2 separate regions of the Homo sapiens genome follow, and region 2 is linked to region 1. Evidence: promoter capture Hi-C in 16 types of primary human blood cells and fetal thymus (Javierre and others, 2016). All regions are on one chromosome and are shown on one strand. Each heading gives the region's core, a stretch centred on a gene start or on the middle of the fragment in contact. The rest is flanking DNA. Distances are from core to core; before and after follow the strand shown.

Region 1 (2,765 bases), core at 128-2,627:
TGAAAAGGATGTGTTGATTGGCCCTTGAAATTTGCCCTTGAAATTATCTTTGGTTTTGATTTGACCTTAATAGGTCAAGCCAAACAGGGATCTGAGCTACTGCATGAAGCAGTTATTGGCGGGGAGGGGGGTGTGAGTGGAGGAGGGAAGGGGAGGAAGATGGTACCAACAGATGCATCCTCAGACCCCAGTCCACACCCTTGCCAAAATCTCTGACATGGTTTCATCATCTGAGGGTAATGTAAGAGGCCTGGAGTCAGACTCCCCTTCCTCCCCTCCCCCAGAGATCCCCATCCACATCTGGGGCTGCAGCTGGGTCCTCCTCTTGGGCCCTTTCCAGGGGAGGGAGCTGGGTGAAGTGAGGGCAGCTGGTGAGGGGCCCTGTGAATGGCCCCAATGTTGGGAGGCAGGGGGCAGGGAAGAGGCGTCTGGGCTCAGAGGGAGGGAGATGGACTGGGAAGGGAATTGTGACTTTGCAGCACTGGTCTCCTCCTCCATCCAGGCCCAGCGTTAAAGTCTCCATGGTCCTCCTTGTCCTTTATACCCATTCCTGCAGGCAGCTGCCCTCCTTCCCTTCCCCACCCACTTCACCGCCCAGCCTCTCTACCCAGGTGCTCGGAACTGAGGGCCCCCTTTGTTCCCTCCTTTCCCCCAGGGCAGCTCAGGCCTCCCACACTGACCCTCTGGCCCCACAGCCACAACAAGCAGAGTGTGAGCCAGGCCCAGTGGGGTCATCTGTGGGTCATAAAGGTCAATGGGACAGTCGTCTAGCAGTAGGGAGGGGCTAGTCTTGGGCTAGGAGCCTGGCCAGGAATCAACTAAAACATGAGCTTTAAGATGCTGCAGGGTGGAGGTGGGGGAAATTTTAGTTAGGGGCTAGCAAGAACTCCCTTCGAGAAGGGTTGGCGAATTTACTGGAATAAATGCAGAAGGGAAGCTTTCCTGGCTCTTTTGAACTATAAACCGTCAATCGCTGTGGGATCCCCGGGAGACCAGGGTTCTTACCATGCTTACCCACGAACTCGCTCTGTAACCTTCGGTAGTTCCCCTCTTTGAATCTCAGTTTCTTCATTTATGAAATGAGGGTCCCATTGAAGCCGAGGTTCTGCTACTCCAGGAGCCGAGGTTCTAACGTGGTCTGCGTCCAGCGCCCCCACCCCTACTCCCACCCCTACCCCCACCCCCACCCTTCAATCCCGCCCCCTACCCCCAGCCACCCCGTGGCCGCGAGCCAAGAGGTCCCTTTAAAGGCGCGAGTCCCGCCCCCACTGCTCATTAGGGCTTTCGATTGGCGGCTCCTGGGCGGGGCGGGGCCCGGCCTGGGCTCGGGGCTGGCTCGGGGCGGGCTCGGGGCCGGATCGGCCCCCGCCCCCTTTGTTCGCGCTGCGGCGGGAGGTGGCTGCCGGGTGGGAGGTGTGTGCGCGTGTGCCGCGCCGTAGGGAGCGGCGGGTCGCGCCGCCGGCTGTCAGCTAGCTCCGCGCCGCCGCCCGATGGCGCGAGGAGGCGCGCGGGCCCAGCCCCGGGGGGCCGGCCGCGGGTGAGCCCCTCGGCCTGCCGCCCGCGAGCATGTCACCTCCAGCCGCCGCCGCCGCAGCCTCCGCCAGCCGCGCCCGCGCCCCCGCCTCCCGCAGCCGCAGCCGCTGCCTCGGGCATTGGCCCCCAGACCCCCGCCTCTGATCCACGCCCAGACCCTAGCTCCAGAGGGCCATGGCCGGCCAGGGGGACTGCTGCGTCAAGGTGGCCGTCAGGTAGGGACCCGGGGCGGGGAAGGGGGCGCGCGGAGAAGCCTCGGGCTTTGTCTCGCGTGGGCTTTGGGCGGGGGGCGCGAGCACCGCTTGGGCTGGAGCCTGCACTCCCGGAGGAGGGGCCGGCGTGGGACGGGATGGAGGGCGCCGCGCGCTGGCCAGTCTGCCGCAGGGGAGCGGCGACCCCGCCGACTACTGGAAGGTGGCTTTGTTTGGGTGGTAATTTTGGGCCCCTCTTGGGAGCCCTTAATGATCAGAAAATCGAATAAACAAGGAAATCCGGTATTTCACACCCAGCTCTGGCCCAGGCCGGAGCGTCTGTGCGTTTCCTCTTCGCCTCCCCACGAGGCTGCTGTCTCATACGGGGATACCAGAGAGGGAAATTTCCCCTCATCCATGCGAGTCAGCTAGTTATGTGCTCTTGGTCCAGCTAGCAAAGGCAGCACACCCACCCTGGGAGCCAGATCTGCAGACAAAGATCGGGTGCGGGGACCAACGGAAAAGCTGGGATGATGCCTTGGCCTTCTGTGGGAAGTCAATGGCTTTGGGGGAGAATCCTACCAGTCCTGTCCCAAGAGGAGATGGGCCTAGGAAGGGAGGAAGAGGTGTATCTGAGGTGCTTCTCTCTGAGAGGGCAGGAGGGTGTGATGCAGATGCCCCATCCTCAGGCACTCAGATAAAATTGAGCAGGGGAGGGTTGCCTAGACTTATCTGGGGTTCCATTCTCAACAGCTCCGGGACTTGAGCCGGCAGAAATGAGACAGGGAGAGGACATGGCTGGGTGGGTTCTATTGGGAGGGGTACACAAAGGTGCAGGAGCAGGAAATGCTGTGAAATTGAGCCATCTGTGTTCTTTGTGCTGGGTGGAGATGCTTCACACCTCACCACTTCTCCCAGTTTTTGCTTTGGGTTTTTCTCTTTGAGAGGGGTGTCTTGGCGGCAGAGTGCCAATCTGGAGCTGCTCACCAAGGTAGGGATGTGGCAAGAACATCTATCTCTGCCCCAGCCCTGTATGATGGA
Region 2 (2,700 bases), core at 26-2,525, 130 kb before region 1:
TGTGTGTGTGTGTGTGTATAAAAAGGCAAATGTGGGGACCCCAGCCAAAAACAGCGTGCTTGTCCAGGGCCTTGCCCAGCTAGAAAAGGGTACTACACAGCAGGGCGCTCTCTGCCCTTAGCTCAGTGCCCCCATTTCCCTGATGCCTGAGAAATCCTGCTGTGGCCAGAGAGGTAAGAGGTACTCAGGTATCTGAGGATGGTGCCCATACTATTTTAAGGACATCGTCAGGCACCTGACCTGCCATCTGTGGCTAGAGGGCAATGTCCTATAAGAGGTGGGTCAAGCGCTCCTTTGTACCCCCACATTACTGCCCCTTTGAGAGTGTTAACACATATCTGTATTCTATCACTTGAGCTTTGTTCTCTGTTTAGGTTGGATGATCTTTTAGTGTGTCTAAGACATGGTTGCTAATGCAAAAATTAGGAAGTCAATCATCTCATAGGAGCTTGAGGTTATGAGACACTGGACAGATAAGCTTCAGTGGGGATTAGAGGAAAAGCAGGGGCATATAGTTGATGCCAGGGAGAGTAGACACCATTTGGGAGTGATGACAGCACTCATCCCCTATCCAGGAGCACCAACGGTAGGGACAGGGAGTGAGGAAGAACCCAGACCCACAGCTGTGGCACGGATGCCAAGACCTCGCCTCATAAAGTCAAACTGATTTTAGGGTTGTTGGATAAAAGCAGGTATGAACTAGAGGGTATGGGTTTTGGCCTGAGTTCTAGAGCTCCAAACTTGGAGGCAGGATGAAGGCTAAGTCCTGAGAGGAAGCAGTGGAAGGCTCCAGAGCTTCCTTAGGCCTCCTCTGCTGGGGAGAGTGCACTGCTGATGTTACCTGGTCTCCACCCTCTCACTGAGCCCCGAGCCAGGGGCTCCCGGCTCCCTCCTGGCTCACATTCTGACTCTGATGTCACTGAGCTCCCTGCCTTCCTTTCCCATTCGCTTGTCCTGGGATCAAGACAAACTGAACTGTTGACTCTTTCTCTACATGTCTCTCCCTGAACTTCCCCAGTCCCATCTCTTTGCTCTCCCTACACTGCCCCTGCCCCCGCCCCCACCCCCCACCAGAATGCCCTCCTCACCATCACCCTGCTCTTGAATTGTGCCTCAAATTTTGCCCACCCTTCCTGGCAGTATTTGTTTCCCATGGCTGCTGTCACAAATTACCATAAACCTGGTGGCTTCAAACAACACGAATGTATTATCTGACAGCTCTGTAGGCCATAAGTCTGACGGAGGTGTTCTCTTGAACTAAAATCAGGGTGTCTACAGGGCTGCATTCCTTCTAGAAGCTCTAGGGAAGAATGCATTGGCTGGCCTTGACCAGCTTCTGCAGCACCCACAGTCCTTGCCTGGTGGCCCCCTGCCTGCATCTTTGAAGCCAGCAGCATAGCATCTCTCTGACCCTACTTCCATGTCCATCTCCTTCTCTAACCACAGCCAGAAAAGGTTCCTCTGTTAAGGAGCCATCTAATTAGATTGGGCCCACCTGAATAATCCAAGCCACTCTCCCCAACCAAGGGCCTTAATTTATATTTGCAAAGTGCCTTTTACTGTGTAAGACAGTATTCACAAGTTCCAGGGATTAGGATGTGGACATTTGGGGGTGCGACATTGTTCTGCCCACCACTCTGGCCCAGCCCAAGTAGCCCTCACTGCCCTCAAAGCCCCCTCTCCACCATTCTGGGCTCCCCTGGCCCTTGGTCTAGGTTTCCCAAGTGCCTCTGCAGCCTTCCCCCAGCACAGCTCTTACCACCCTGAATTGTCATTGCTTGTTGATTTGTGGTTTTCTTGCAATAAACTTCAAGTTCTGTGGGAACAGGGACAGGGTTTGTCTTGTTTACTGAGATATCCCCAGCACCTAGCACAGTGCTCAAAAAATTTTTGAAGGGAAAAAGCATTTCTGATACGGGAGATAGAAATTATTTAGGCAGATAGCAAGGACAAAAAAGTCCTTGGCAGAACTTCCCTTCTAATAAGAAGCAGCCCTAGAAATCATTTCTTTTCTAACACAGAGCAGCCTCAAAGATTGGGCTGCAAACATATATAAGGAAGCTGGAAGCTTGCACGGAGGAATGCTGGCAGCTGCACTCATAGAAAAGGGCTACCGGGGGGCCAGGCATGTTCACCATGGGACTCCACCTTCCCTTTTTTGTTAGCACATGTACAGTAAGAAAGAACTGGGCAACATGGAGAAGCTCAGGCAGAGAAACCACCTGCATAATAAAGATTGGGCTGGGAGCTGCCAGAGATTTGTGCCCTATGCAGATGGCACACCTGGTGCTAACTTTTTTTGAGATGCCCTGTATAGATGAGATACTGCCTCCCCACTAGCTCATCTATAAAACCCCCTGCATTTCACCTTAAATTGGCAACTCATTTTTCCAGGACCCCTCTCTGTAGCAGAGAGCTATTGTCTTTCTTTCACCTATTAAATTTCCACTCTTAACCTCACTCTTTGTGTGTCTACCTCCTTGATCTTCATGGCCAGGAGACAACAAACCTCAAGTGTCACCACAGACAACAAGGCTGCTTCACTTCTACAACACATCACTTTCTATGTTACATTCTGACCATGTGATTGGTCTGCTATTAGGTTGTGCATTACTTGAAAGCAGAGTTGCATGTGATTTGTCTGTTGTATCCCTGGGGTACCTAGCATCTGTGAGCCCTGGAGTTTGGCTCACAGATAGT

What was found. Contacts are between HindIII fragments. The CHiCAGO score rates a contact against its expected background, and 5 or more counts as called.
Region 2: a contact is called between a fragment that was not itself captured here and the fragment with the promoter of KIF21B in region 1, in 2 of 17 cell types (naive CD8 T cells and naive CD4 T cells). The highest score is 5.6, in naive CD8 T cells.

The regions. Positions count from the first base shown.
Region 1 is chr1:201,022,326-201,025,090 of GRCh38, reverse strand. KIF21B (kinesin family member 21B) reads left to right here and starts at 1,377. Exons shown (of 35, transcript NM_001252102.2): 1 at 1,377-1,748. The coding sequence starts at 1,708. LOC101929305 (a long non-coding RNA gene) reads right to left here and starts at 1,142. Exons shown (of 4, transcript NR_188464.1): 1 at 1,006-1,142. RefSeq lists silencers at 652-809, 1,161-1,520, 1,921-1,970 and an enhancer at 2,575-2,765. The HindIII fragment of the contact is 1,958 bases long and covers 940-2,765 here.
Region 2 is chr1:201,156,802-201,159,501 of GRCh38, reverse strand. It overlaps a transcript of TMEM9 not described here. Among named protein-coding and RNA genes, the nearest start is that of TMEM9, 3.7 kb to the right of the region's middle. The HindIII fragment of the contact is 1,590 bases long and covers 481-2,070 here.